Regions from separate parts of the Homo sapiens genome. Here all the other regions are linked to region 4. The links are contacts of gene promoters, found by promoter capture Hi-C in human tissues and cell types (Jung and others, 2019). All regions are on one chromosome and are shown on one strand. The core of a region is centred on a gene start or on the middle of the fragment in contact, and the rest is flanking DNA. Distances in the headings are between cores, read along the strand shown. Region 1 holds the start of C15orf62 (chromosome 15 open reading frame 62). Region 2 overlaps SRP14-DT (SRP14 divergent transcript). Region 3 holds the start of EIF2AK4 (eukaryotic translation initiation factor 2 alpha kinase 4). Region 4 holds the start of KNSTRN (kinetochore localized astrin (SPAG5) binding protein). Region 5 overlaps SRP14-DT (SRP14 divergent transcript).

Region 1 (2,712 bases), core at 186-2,685, 390 kb after region 4:
AGGATGCAGAAGGGAGCCCTACCCGAGGCAGCCCGGAATGCCCCACCCTCGAAGGGGAAAAAGGCAAGCATGAGGCCAGCGTGCCTCTAAAACTACACACCAGGGCTCCTGGAGGGCAGGGCCCATAATCAAAAGAATAATAAACAACCATCTGAATGGGCCAAGGCTGTAGGGTGGAGAAGCAGCTCTACAGCGGGACCTAAGCTGCCAACCCACGCCCTGATAAGGTCTGCGGTGGGAATTAAACCTTTTCCTCCCTCGGTGCCGCTTAGGCTGTGTGATGATCATGTGGTCCCAACAGCTTCTCAGAGAAGTGTGAAGCACACCTGAGTTGGCACAGAAGTGAGCTAGGCCAGGGATTGCAAGATGCGGTGGCCTGCCCGTAGCAGAGAGCTGTGGGGCCCTGATCCGCGGTACCCCGCATGGGGACGCTGTCACAGAGCAAGGCAGGAGGAAAATGTGGTGGTCAGTGACCCGGGGAATAGGAAGGGAGCAGCTAGGGTTGAGATGCCAGGCCCTGGCCAGCAGGTTTGGAGTAAGGGGTGTAGAGAAACAGGAAGTGTTACTCAGCCTGGGTTCCCCTGTTCCTCCCGATGGCTGCACCCCTCCCCTCTCCCCGGCTGCAGCAGTCCCAGCTAGGCCGGACTGCTAAGCCTGGCCCAGAGCACGGCTGACAATTCACGGCAGCCTCCCTGGCCCAGCCTCCTGCAAGAGAAGGAGGACCCCAGAGGAAGCCCGGTAGCCAGAGGGGAAGGGCTGGAGCACAGCCAGGTAGGAGGCAACACGGCCCGGCCTTCAGCAGCCGCTCTCCTGGCAGGAGCCCTCTAGGGTAAAACAAGGGAGGACAAGGAAATAGCAGCCAGGCTGATGGCAGGCCAAGAGGAGGCCACATCTCCCATCCCCAGGTTAATGCTGCTCTGCCAAGAAAACTTGGAGCCACCCTTGGCGGGCCCCCAGCCCAACCCTGGGCAGCAGAGCCCGCCCATCACAGGCATGGCGCTGCTCCCCATTAACACACCCTCTGCCCCCCTTCCTGTTCCTGCTCGTGAGGGCCTGACAGCGGGGCTGAGTCACCCATACCAGCTACAGGTCTCTTCCTTCCCCAACAATCGTTCCACACGCCTGCCTTTCAATTAACTCCCACCCGCCCCGAACTCTTCCTACCCAGACACTGTGGGCAGGGAGCCAGGCGCACCTGCTGGGGGCCCAGGGTGGTGGGGCTGTGATCAGAAAGGAAGCCGCGTGGTGACACATAAAGCAGGGCTGCCCCCACACGAGTCCCCAGAGGAATCTTAAGCTCCCCATTGCCCTGGGGTGTTGGTCCCAGCTGCCCCATCCCTGCACGCGGATGCTGCAATTACCCAAGAGCACGAAACCTGGCTTCCCACCTGACTGAGTCAGCTGAGAACAAAAACACATCTCCACCGCCACAAACAGCCAGGCCACTCATCAGAGTCCGGGAGCCACTGGCAGAGAGGGCACGGCCCCACACTGCCCCAGAGACATATAGGAGCCAGGCAAACACCAGGGCGAGTGAGCTCGGGCCATCTGCTGCCTGCCTGTGGAAGGAGCGCTCGCCAGCCTCACCCAGCCCGAGAAGGTCCACCTCTGCCTCCGCCGGAGCTGCCCTCATTCTGGCTCCAGTAAGTGCTGCTTCTTCCTCCTGGGTTTTTTTCCACTACCCTATTCAGTAACCAGGCCACTCCTGTCCCTGTGGGAAACTCTTGCTGCCAGGAACTCCCAGCTGTCTGCTCTCCTGGGCAAAAAAGTTCCTTCTTCCTGAGCCCTCCTCTCACCATCCAAGATGTGGTCAAAGGTCTGTGCTGAGTGGAAACCCTGAGGCCTCTGCTCCTAGGGGAGCCTCCCCAGCTGCTGGCACTCACTGCCCCAGCAGGGACCACATGCACCCTGGCTGCTCCTGAACACCTGTCTGCTGGCTCCCCTGGGCCCCATGGAGACCTGGCGGAAAGGCTCCTTCCGCAACGCCTCCTTCTTCAAGCAGCTGAGCCTGGGGCGGCCACGGCGGCTCCGGCGACAGAGTAGTGTGCTTAGCCAGGCCAGCACAGCAGGTGGGGACCACGAGGAGTACAGCAACCGAGAAGTCATCCGGGAGCTACAAGGGAGGCCAGATGGCCGGCGCCTGCCACTGTGGGGGGACGAGCAGCCCCGGGCCACCCTGCTGGCCCCACCCAAGCCCCCACGCCTCTACCGAGAGAGCTCAAGCTGCCCCAACATCCTGGAGCCCCCACCTGCCTACACAGCAGCCTACTCTGCCACCCTGCCATCGGCGCTCTCTCTGTCGAGTGCCCTCCACCAGCACTCAGAGAAGGGCCTTGTGGACACTCCCTGCTTCCAGAGGACACCTACCCCAGACCTCAGTGATCCCTTCCTCTCCTTCAAAGTGGACCTGGGGATTTCACTTCTTGAGGAAGTTCTGCAGATGCTAAGGGAGCAGTTTCCTAGCGAGCCCAGCTTCTAAATGGGGTGAGGGTGGGCAAAGCCGGGGTGACTGGAAGATCCAGAGGCTGGGGATTAAGGAAAGGACAGGGACAGGACTCCAGGCCCATCGCTGGAGGGTTCAGGCAGGCAGAGCTTCTTCATCCTGGGGGAGGATTCCAGGATAGGAATCCAGGGCTCTGCCTGCTCTCTGGGTCCTGGACAGTCCTTCCAGGCACCCCAGAGTGGAGGGACAGAGGCAATCTGGAAATGTTG
Region 2 (2,700 bases), core at 139-2,638, 320 kb before region 4:
ACAACCTGGAATGAAAGCTGTTGAGTCTAGAGAAATGGGCTACAAAGAAGGTTTACAAGATAATCTATTAAGAATAGGGAATACAGGCCGGGCACGGTGGCTCACACCTGTAATCCCAGCACTTTGGGAGGCTGAGGTGGGTGGATCATTTGAGGTCAGGAGTTCGAGACCAGCCTGGCCAATGTGGTGAAATCCTGTCTCTACCAAAAATTATCCAGGCATGGTGGTGCGTGCCTGTAGTCCCAGCTACTTGGGAGGCTGAGGCATGAGCATCGCTTGAACCCGGGAGGCAGAGGTTGCAGTGAGCCGAGATCGCGCCACTACACCCCAGCCTGGGTGACAGAGCAAGACTCCGTCTCAAAAAAATAAAAAAACCTAAAATAAAGCTTAATACACATGACATATGGATTGGCAGTCACACATAAATATGATTGATAAGGATACAAATATTTGGAGGTGCTGCCTGACCATCTGTTGCTGATTATGTGGAGATCACTTGTCTAGGACCCTGAGATAGACTGATGTTTCTAACTCTGCCACACACGGTCTCTCCCACCCTCCAGACACTTTCTTCCTTCAGTTCAGGGAACCCTCAATACACAGTAAGAATGAAGAGGTTGCAGGTCTGAGCTTGAGGAGGACTGGACTAAAAGGAGTTTAGCCCTGCCAGGGCATTCCGAGGACTGTGAAGATCCGGAATATTGGCCACAGGCATCTATGTATTTGAATCATATCCATTTTTGAGCTCACTCCTAGCAGAGGAGTCAAAACTTACGTTCTGGCCCCCAGGTACATTTCCAGTCTCTTACTCATAAAATTGTGACATACCCCCAGGGGTGCCCAAAGGGGTTTGTGAATCAAGATAGTTTGAGGAGAATCGATTTTCTGATCCTCAGTTTTTCTATGCTCTTTTTCCTAAAAGCGATATTCCTAAAAAGGCATCCAAGACAAGGCATCCCCTTTCCCATTTGCTGGGGAAGACAGCTTTACAAGAGAAAGCTGCCCCTCTCACCCATGTGACCCCCCACTCTGGGGCACTGCCCTAGGGGTAGAAATCTCCAAGGCATCAAACAAAGTGACTCCTGGGGGTCAAGTGACAGAGGAGCAAGTCTTTCTGCAAGTCAAGTGGTTTCCAGCTCTGCTTTCAGCAAAATTGAAAGAGGCACTAATCAAATTGCCAGCGGATCATAAAAAAACATTTTGATAATAATGTTATTAGGCATATAACTTGGAAGAAGTTCAAAGAATTGAATGGCATCCTCATAACAAACTCATCGGCTTCCATTTATTTATTTATGTGGACAGTGTTTCTCAATGTTTAAACCTACAAAAGACTAAACATGGGAGTAAACTTCATGTTGAACCTTGTGTGAGTCTAGCAATAAGTCATCCACATATACATACACTAATTGGGAAGAAAACCTGTCCCAACCCCAACTATTTTATTAAGAGATGCATTTCCAATAAAAATTTACCTTTTATGTTTAATAGTTGTTTATCAAATTTCGTAATTATTTACATTGCTCTGATCAATTGGATATAAACTATTCTAACACTAAACTCATAACCAAAAAATTAATGCTCAGCTTTGGGAACAGAGGAATTTTTTTTTTTTTTTTTTTTTTTGAGAAGGAGTCTTGCTCTGTTACCCAGGCTGGAGTGCAGAGGCGCAATTTCAGCTCTCTGCAACCTCCACCTCCCGGGTTCAAGCGATTCTCCTGCCTCAGCCTCCCAAGTAGCTGGGACTACAGGTGTGTGCCATCACGCCTAGCTAATTTTTGTATTTTTAGTAGAGACAGGGTTTCACCATGTTGGCCAGGATGGTCTTGACCTCTTGACCTCGTGATCTGCCCCTCGGCTTCCCAAAGTGTTGGGATTACAGGTGTGAGCCACCAGTCCCGGCCAGAAGTTTTAATCTTTAAATTTTATTTAATACAATAATCAATCAAAGATTTTTCTTTCTTTCTTTTTTTTTTTTTTTTTTTTGAGACAACTTCTCCCTTTGTTAGTCAGGCTAGAGTGCAGTGGTGCAATCATGGCTCACTGCAGCCTTGACCTCCTGGGCTCAAGCCATCCTCCTGCCTCAGCCTCCCCAAAGTACTGGGATTACAGTCATGAACCACCATGCCTAGCCAATAAAAGATTTTCAAGCATAAAAAATAAATACAGGCTGGGTGCTGTGGCTCACACCTATAATCTCAACACTTTGGGAGGCCGAGGTGGGCGGATCATTTGAGCCTAGGAATTGGAGACCAGCCTGGGCAATATGGTGAAACTGTGTCTCTACAAAAAATACAAAAATTAGCAGGGCATGGTGGTGCAGGCCTGTAGTTCCAGCTACTCAGAAGGCCGAGGTGGGGGAATCACCTGAGCCCAGGAGATTGAGGCTGCAGTGAATCAGGATCACACCACTGCACTCCAGCCTGGGCAACAGAGCAAAACCCTGCCTCAAAAAAAAAACAAACAAACAAACAAAAAAAAACCCTTACATTAGCATAAAATCTGTAACAGGAGTGAAATGGAAATACAAGTTCTTGGAGAGAACGAAATAATGTAAACTTCTAAGCTGTTTAATTAGCGTTTGTTCCCCTATTTTTTTTAATGGATAATGTTGGACACAGAATTGCTCTGGCATTTAGATTCCATTGGACATTTAAAAGAAAGATACAATTTGTATTTGAAAATATCAATATTCATTTT
Region 3 (2,700 bases), core at 147-2,646, 450 kb before region 4:
GGTTAGAGTGTAGTGGATGGACAGAAGTGGTGACTATTTGGATGTGAGTTGAGAGAAAGGGAATTCAGAATCACACTCAGTTGAATGGTGCCATTTACCTAGTCAGAGATCACTGGAGAAGGAACGGGTCTCCAGCAGAGGGAAGATGATGATTTAAATTGGCCTTGGGTCAAGCTAGTGCATTTGTGTTATCTGGCCAGAAATGAGTGGATAGATGGCAGCAAGGAATTTACACAATCATTATTTAGTGAACAGTGGAGGAGTAAGCAAGGTAGACAGAAGAAACGTCACTTAAACCTAACTTGGGTTAGTACAATAGGATTATTCGAAATGGACATGCAGCATTAGTAAGTTACTGAAGATGAAGTGCAATAACAATGTCTGGGTAGACAGGTTATTATTTTATAAACTTGAAAAACGACGACTTGAGGCAGGATATAACACAAAGACTCCCTAAATTCACACTGAGTGAACTGGGAAGGGAACATGATTCTCTTCATGGGAAGGTAGCTCATAAAGATGCCTGAGTGGAAAGACAGTTTTCAATTGAATTTGCAAGGTGGTAGTGGAGATCCCCAAAGCTGGGGAATGTAGAGACAGAGAACATAATGAGGGTGTTGAATCTGTGGCTCAGAGAATAAGTTTGGGGGTACTAAAGTGGGAGGAAGGAGGGTGGGGGGGGTCACAATTTTTACTCCCGGTAGTCTTGTTCTGGGAAGGTACAAGGTGAAATTAGAAGTGACCTCAGAACCCATCGACGTCTGCCCTTTAAGAGTTTCCCGGCCGGGCGCGGTGGCTCATGCCTGTAATCCCAGCACTTTGGAAGGCCGAGGCGGGCGGATCACAAGGTCAGGAGATCGAGAACATCTTGGCCAACATGGTGAAACACCATCTCTACTAAAAATAGAAAAATTAGCCGGGCGTGGTGGTGCGCGCCTGTAGTCCCAGCTACTCTGGAGGCTGACGCAGGAGAATCGCGTGAACCCGGCAGGCGGAAGTTGCAGTGAGCCGAGATCGCGCCACTGCACTCCAGCCTGGGGAACAAGAGCCGAAACTCTGCCAAAAAAAAGAAAAAAGAGTTTCCCGCACTAGCCATGCCAGGGTGGAGAAGTTCCAGCAAGCACTTCTGTTAAAGATACTTGTTTCGTGAAAACTATACAATGTGGCGTTTTCATTCCTATCTGTGATTCATTTCTTAAGTTCGTGGAGTTCCTTTGCTCCCCTTCCCCCAGCAGGATGTGGGCAAAGCTGTCCCCCTGCCTTCTTCCTTCGCCTGGGCTTCTGGAGCCTCCGGAGCTAGCTCCCGGCGCGGAGCTCCGCCTACGGCCCGTCCCCGGCGCGGAACCCCGCCCACGAGCCCGTTTCCAGCGTGGAACACCGCCCATAGCCCGTCCCCAGCGCGGAGCCCCGCCCCGCAGGCTGCCGGGGGCCCACCGCCGCCCAGGCAAGGCCGCCCTGCCTTGGGCGCAGCGCTGCCATGGCTGGGGGCCGTGGGGCCCCCGGGCGCGGCCGGGACGAGCCTCCGGAGAGCTACCCGCAACGACAGGACCACGAGCTACAGGCCCTGGAGGCCATTTACGGCGCGGACTTCCAAGACCTGCGGCCGGACGCTTGCGGACCGGTAGGAACGTGGCTTGTCAGGCCCGGGCTGGCGTGCCCTGGCCTCCCCGGGCCCTGGGCCAAAGCCCGGACACTTCCAGATTGGGCCGCCGCTTTAGGATCCTGCAGTCTTTTCATCCCTTAGGTTCCACCCATGCTCACTTTAGTCCTTGCACCTGCAGCTGGTCTGCAGAATCCCACCTAGGCCGAATTCTTCTACAGTCCTTTCCCCATGATTTCCCCAGAGGAATCCCCCTGGATTCCTCCCTCTTACCTGGCACTGCTTCTTATTCCTGCCTACATCCCATAACATAACTGCCTCCTTCCAACCTTGTCCTTTTTCCCCTCTGAAAGCCCTTGCGGATGATACCACAGCAATTCATACGCGCCCCTTGCTACTTTGTTCTGAGAACGCTTTTTGGGCTCTCGCACAGGCCTTACGTCCTCAATCAGAATTCTCAAGTCTCATCCATGCATTCAAATCTGCACGCCACATAATTCCCTCTGTACTCCCCAGGCATCCTCACTGTGTTTTCCGGTATGGAGGAACTTTCCATACCTCTGCACCTTCCTCTAAGACATTTAGCTCAGAATAAAGCACACATTCATCTTAGCTGTAGTAGAGAGAGGGTTCTAGACTGAGTCTAGAGAAGGAGTGTCCAATCTTTTGGCTTCCCTGGGCCACACACAAAATACACTAACACTAAGGATAGCTGATGACCTAAAAGAAAAAAAAAATTCGCAAAAAAACCTCAATGTTTTAAGAAAGTTTACGAATGCGTGTTGGGCCACATTCAAAGCGGCCCATGGGCCTCGGGTTAGACCAGCTTGCTCTAGCTCTAGACCTTTTAAAATGGCATTTTGTTTAAAATAATATTTTGCCTTTTTGTCTGGAAATTAAGGCACGTTATAAAGTATTTATACTGACAGTTTTTTCCCCATCCTTGAAGAGTTGATCTACCAAACTATTTCTGAATATTATCATATTATCATTTAAAACATAGTTCTAACTTCATCTGCTTTTTTTTTTTTTCTTTTTGAGACAGGGTCTTGCTCTGTCTCCCAAGCTGGAGTGCAGAGGCATGACCACGGCTCACTGCA
Region 4 (2,700 bases), core at 21-2,520:
CAGGAGGCCGAGGTGGGAGGATCTCCTGAGCCCAGGAGTTCAAGGTTGCAGTGAACTATGATTGCACTCCAGCCTGGGCAACAGAGTGAGACCCTGTCTCAAAAAATAATAATAAAATAAAATAAAATATAAATTGGATGACACTCTCCTGCTATAATACTTCAGTGGCTTTCCATTACTTTTAGATAAAATCTAATCTCTATACCTTGGCCTGTAAAATCTGTCTTTTGACTGCTTATTTCTCCAGCTTTATCTGTACCACTCTCTTCCTATCTTTCTGTGCCTATAGAAGAACCCATTTCTGCCTTGGGACTTTGCATTTTCCCCTTTCCCCAATGAAATTAACTCCCTCTCCTTCCTTAATCAAACATCATCTCAGAGAGGTCTTCCCTGAGCCCCCAATATAATCTAAGTTTCCCTGCTTTTCTATCTTATACGATTTTGTACTTTTTCTTCATAGTGTGTGTGTTTTGGTTTGATTTTTGAGATCACGCTCTGTCACCCAGGGTGAAGTGCAGTGGCGCGATCTCCGCTCACTGCAACCTCTGCCCCGCCCAGGGTCACATAATTCCCCCACCTCAGCCTCCAGGGTAGCTGGGACTACAGGAGCATGCCACGACACCTGGCTAATTTCTGTATTTTTTGTAGAGACGGGGTTGCACCATGTCGCCCAGGGTGGTCTCAAACTCCTGGACTCAAGCAATTCACCCGCCTCCACCTCCCAAAGTGCTATAATTACAGCTGTGAGCCACTGTGCCCAGCCTTCTTCACAATTTCACCACAATCCGTAAATATATATTTATTTATGTGATTATTTGTTCACTGTCTGTTTTCTAAGTTGTAAACTCCAGGAGGGCAGAGCCAAGGTCAATCTTGATATTTGCCCTCCCTCACTCCCTTCCACCCACTGAGAACACTGTTGGGTAATCAGCAGGTACTCAATAAATGCCAGATGAAATGAATGAGCTAGTGCATTTAGTAATGGAAGCTACCCTGTTTATTGGGAGTAGCTTTGAATCACTACTGAAAATCTGGATAAGTGCTATTAAAATTAGGACCTCAGGTAGGTGCCTCAGGTATCTCAGCCCATAGGTCCTTTTCTTCAAGCCTCACCTGCCACTCTCCACCTGTAACGTGTAGTTTTCATCCAAATAACCTGTGCTCCTGGCAATATCCCTAACAATCCCAAACTAAATAAAGAGGATTGTGACATGGACCCTAAATGTCGCCACGTTTGCGTCTCCATCCCGGAATATGACGCTGGTAGCTCATTAGCTCCATTCAAGCCTACAAATTGCATCACCCTCCTCCTCTGCCCAGACCTGGGGGCTCCAACACCTTTCGCTAGGTCTGGCTCTGGCCTCTGAGCGAACCTTCCGTACAGTATGGCGGCTCCCGAAGCCCCGCCCCTGGACAGAGTTTTCCGTACAACATGGCTGTCTACAGAGTGCGATTCCCACCCACTTCCGCCTAGCTACCGGAAGTTTCTATTTGAAACCCAGGCGGCCGACTTAGCCGGTGGCACGACAGTTGCTGCAGGGAATCTTTTAAACGAGAGCGAGAAGGACTGCGGGCAGGACCGGCGGGCTCCTGGGTTCGGCTCTCCCGGGGCGAGGGACTGGGCTGGATGGGAGGAAGGACGGAATGAGCTGGGAAAGGAGGATTTTCTCTTTTCCAACCCCGAGCCGGGGCCTGTCGGGTCGCGCTATCCCCGGGCCCTCCACTCTCTCGGGCCCAGTGGCCCAGCGCTGGGTAACATTCATCCTGTACCTTCCAGGGTTCAGCCGTGCCGCCTCGTTACGATGACCAGTGTGGTTAAGACAGTGTATAGCCTGCAGCCCCCCTCTGCGCTGAGCGGCGGCCAGCCGGCAGGTGAGGGTCCAAGCCACGCCCGGGGCACTGCGGCCTGGCCGGGGATGGTCTCGGGAGTGTGGAGATCGAATGGGTGGCGCGGGCACGGGGAAGGGCGTCCCGTCGGCCCTGAAAACCTGTGAGCCCCCTATAACCAGGCTATGTAGGTTTATGATGGGAGTTAAGGGAAGGACCATGTGGTAGGATTTTAGACGTGCTCTGCACTTTTCTGCCCGCATGTGTACTGTATTCATCAGTTAGATTCAAGTTGTTGGTTATTGTACAATGTTATTCCCATTAAGCTAGGAATCCCCTTCTAATCGGTTATCGTCTTATTTCCAGACTTGGGCTATCTTGAGGGATTGGGTTTGTTTTCAGGGAGGAAAGAGGAGAATCATTTGAGAAGTGGGATACTTAGGGTTCTTTGTTCACCTTTATATCTGCACCGTGTTTCTCATTACCACATTCTCAATACACGTTTGTTGAGTGAAGTGGGAGAGAGGGGTTAGACCTAGGCACAGTATTTGAGAAACTTGGGCGAAGAGAGAGACATGATTAAAAATAGTTTTTAATTGCTTTGCCATCTGCTTTGTGTTGCTTTGCTTGTGGTTGAAAGTCATCTCATGGGGTCTGCAGTCGGGGAACTGCCTAATCTAGAGATTATAGTACAGAGTAAGCTTCAGACATCAGAAAACTGTTGTGGGAGATTATGGAGTAGCTATTTATGATCCCTTCCCAGATGATTCCACTCAGCTGGTACATAAACCTTGGCAAGATGGAGCGCTGAAGTGGCCAGGCACGGTGGCTCACGCCTGTAATCCCAGCACTTTGGGAGGGCGAGGTGGGCAG
Region 5 (2,700 bases), core at 45-2,544, 330 kb before region 4:
TTGAGTGGGGATGTGAAGTGGTTGTGGCCTTACAGAAACAGCACTGGAGTGGCAGCCGAAGTGCTGAGTTCTAATCTGAATTCTGCCACTCATTGGCGTGGGACCTTGGACAAGTCACTTTTTGCCGGACTTGAGTTTCTTCCTCTGTAACTTGGGGAGTTGGGATTGAGCTGTAAAGTCCCTTCCAGTTTTAAATGTGAGACTCCAATGCTGTCAGGTAACTTTGGGATTGCTGTAATGACTGTTTGGGGGCTAGTATAGCTGGGAAAGAAATTAGGATGAGAATCCAATTGAGGGCAAGATAAAATGGAATTGTATTCTATTCAGAACTTGAAATAGGATGGGATTTTGTTTTCCCCAGATCCTCACCATAAAGAGATTTGGGAGAAAATCTTGGGAGATTTGGACTCAGAATATCTTAAGAGGTAGTATTCTAGAAGATTGCCCAACACTTGGTGGGGAAGAGCAAGAATTCTTCCAGATTGCTTGACAAGCAGAACATGGGGAGTGGGTCACAGTAATACCAGGAAAGACACATCCCATCCTCCCAACCCTCTTTTCCACTGAAGCTGCTCCTTACAATTCCTGTAACTGGGGACCAGGCCTTTCATTCCAGTTACAGCTAAAACTTAACATGGCCATTTAAATTTCCCTGAGGGTATAAATGGCTAATATTCTCTCCTTCTAAGACCCAGCATATGCTGAGAGAGGCCTTCAGAGGAGGTGGGGGCTGGAAGAAGGAGTGAAGGTGGAGGCCCAAAGATCACGCAGGAGCCATGCTTTTTCTGAAGCCAGATCTAGGCCTAGCAACTCAGAGCAGTTCCCCGTGGGCAGTGATGTGGAAGAAGGCCCTGGGCTTCCTAAGTGCCTCTAGGTCACTTTGTGAAACCTCTCACATGGGCCTGCCTGGGAGGAGGAGCCCAGTGTAGCCCCCACCTGTCTGCTGCCTGCTCATCTTCCAGGGTGTTGAGGGGATGGGTAGCATGGCTGTCTGCCCCCACCAATTACCCACATGGCTTGGGTCAACCAGACTCTGTCAGAGCTGTTGAAGGAGACATAAACCTAGGCTTTTGGAGGCAGCTTCAGGGAAAGGTGGAGTGTGTGAGGTGGAAGGTGGGTGAGAAAGTGTGCAAGGGGGAACACACTGTTCTCTACTGGCCCTTTGCCAAACAGCAAGGGAGAGAGGAGTAACAAGGCCAGACTATGGCCATGTTTAGTGGTTTTCAACTGCGGCCCAAAATGAGGCAGACATAGGCTAGGCATGGTCTAGCCCTTGTGTGTGTGTGTGTGTGTGTGTGTGTGTGTGTGTGTGTGTAGGGGGAGTGTGAGGAAGTTGTGAGGGTGTGTGGTGTGTGGGGGAGTGGTGTGTGTGGGGGGTGTGGTGTGTGTGAGGAGTGTGTGGTGTGTGGGGGATTGTGGTGTGCGGGGGCGGTGGTGTGTGTGGTGTGGGGTGTGGTGTGTGCGTCTGTGTGGTTGTGTGTGGTGTGTGGGGAGGTGTCATGTGGCATGTGTGGGGGGTTGTGTGTGTGTGAGGAGTGTGTAGTGTGGGGGGGGTTTGTGTGTGCATGGTGTGTGTGCGCGTGTGAGGGGGTGTGGTATGCATGGGCAGTGGTGTATGTGGTGTGTGGGGGGTGTGGTGTGTGGGGGTGTGTGGTGCGGTGTGGGTGTGTGTGTGTAAGGAGGTAGTGTGTGTGGATGTGTGTAGGGGGTGTGGGGTGATGGTGCGTGTGTGGTATGGGGGGTGTGGTGTGTGTGTCTGGAGTGGGGAGTGTGTGGTGTGTGGGGAGGGTGGGGATGTGTGTGTGGAGTGTGGGGGTGTGTGGTGTGTGTGTGGAGTGTGGTGTGTGGGGAGGGGGCGGGTGTTGGCCTGGGTGAGCCCTGGCAATCGCAGCAGAGAAGATGCCAAAATTTTGTATTTACTGTCAGGGCAATGATGCTGGAACTGCAGATCCAGCGCCCCGAAACCCGGCCCATCCCAAGACACTGCTTCTCACAGCCAACAGAGGAAGGAGGGAGGGGGAGAGGCCTGAAGCCGAGGCTTCTTCTTGAGGAATGCTCGCCAGGCCAGCAGCCTTCCTCACTTCAATGCAGCCTTCCCCTTCTATCCACCGATGAGCATTTAGCGGGCAACTCCTTTGTCCAGGGCAAGCCTTCCCCAGGTCTCTCTCTTCAAAAGCAGATGCTACCTAGTGGGAGGTGCGGAGTTATACATGCAAGAAAGGGCTACAGGACAGCATCACTAGTACCAAGCTGTGAAGGAGGTGGACTTTGAAGGGAAGAAAGAATTTAGAAAAACAGACTAGTGGACTAGTTACTGCGGGGAGCAGAGTGCCATTTCAGGCAGGAGAAGGAGTGTGATGTGAATCTTAGGGAAGAGTCCTCTTTGTATGTTCTGACAACTATTCTCTGACACCAACGGGGCATCCTGCAATTGGATTCAGTGTCAATTCTGACACTGACTACCTGCAGTTAGTGCCTGTGATATTGTGAAACAGGTATTAATTAGGTCTTCATTCCTGACATACAACTCCTAAAATCCTTGGAATCTCCTAAGTTTTAAGTGTCTTTTTGCACGCTAAGCACCTAGGTAGCTTCAAGATGGGAGCTGGCCGCCAGAAAGATCAAGACAGGGTTAGAGGATTGGGACTTTCAGCCCCACCCTTCAACCTCCAGGGAGGGAAAAGGGGCTGAAGTTTAAGT

The links. Contacts are between HindIII fragments. The study calls those that stand out against the background at their distance.
Region 1: a contact is called between the fragment with the promoter of C15orf62 here and the fragment with the promoter of KNSTRN in region 4, in 1 of the 25 tissues and cell types used here (lymphoblastoid cells).
Region 2: a contact is called between a fragment that was not itself captured here and the fragment with the promoter of KNSTRN in region 4, in 2 of the 25 tissues and cell types used here (psoas muscle and thymus).
Region 3: the fragment with the promoter of EIF2AK4 here is called in contact with the fragment with the promoter of KNSTRN in region 4 in 1 of the 25 tissues and cell types used here (adrenal gland).
Region 5: a contact is called between a fragment that was not itself captured here and the fragment with the promoter of KNSTRN in region 4, in 2 of the 25 tissues and cell types used here (IMR-90 fibroblasts and mesenchymal stem cells).

The regions. Positions count from the first base shown.
Region 1 is chr15:40,768,545-40,771,256 of GRCh38, forward strand. It overlaps C15orf62 (chromosome 15 open reading frame 62), which reads left to right and starts at 1,436. Exons shown (of 1, transcript NM_001130448.3): 1 at 1,436-2,712. The coding sequence starts at 1,952. The coding sequence ends at 2,479. The region is part of intron 10 of DNAJC17 (DnaJ heat shock protein family (Hsp40) member C17); the gene reads right to left. RefSeq lists enhancers at 97-715, 1,334-1,952, 1,906-1,995, 1,953-2,569. The HindIII fragment of the contact is 9,899 bases long and covers 1-2,712 here.
Region 2 is chr15:40,066,024-40,068,723 of GRCh38, forward strand. SRP14-DT (SRP14 divergent transcript) reads left to right here. Exons shown (of 3, transcript NR_040060.1): 3 at 1-1,486. Among named protein-coding and RNA genes, the nearest start is that of SRP14-DT, 28 kb to the left of the region's middle. RefSeq lists a silencer at 2,297-2,480. The HindIII fragment of the contact is 7,878 bases long and covers 1-2,700 here.
Region 3 is chr15:39,932,719-39,935,418 of GRCh38, forward strand. EIF2AK4 (eukaryotic translation initiation factor 2 alpha kinase 4) reads left to right here and starts at 1,397. Exons shown (of 39, transcript NM_001013703.4): 1 at 1,397-1,621. The coding sequence starts at 1,478. RefSeq lists an enhancer at 1,110-1,249 and a silencer at 1,270-1,679. The HindIII fragment of the contact is 10,364 bases long and covers 1-2,700 here.
Region 4 is chr15:40,381,451-40,384,150 of GRCh38, forward strand. KNSTRN (kinetochore localized astrin (SPAG5) binding protein) reads left to right here and starts at 1,271. Exons shown (of 9, transcript NM_033286.4): 1 at 1,271-1,594; 2 at 1,778-1,872. The coding sequence starts at 1,386. RefSeq lists enhancers at 149-649, 1,275-1,344, 1,304-1,827, 1,593-1,762, 1,828-2,349. The HindIII fragment of the contact is 15,043 bases long and covers 1-2,700 here.
Region 5 is chr15:40,049,176-40,051,875 of GRCh38, forward strand. The region is part of intron 2 of SRP14-DT (SRP14 divergent transcript); the gene reads left to right. Among named protein-coding and RNA genes, the nearest start is that of SRP14-DT, 11 kb to the left of the region's middle. The HindIII fragment of the contact is 7,633 bases long and covers 1-2,700 here.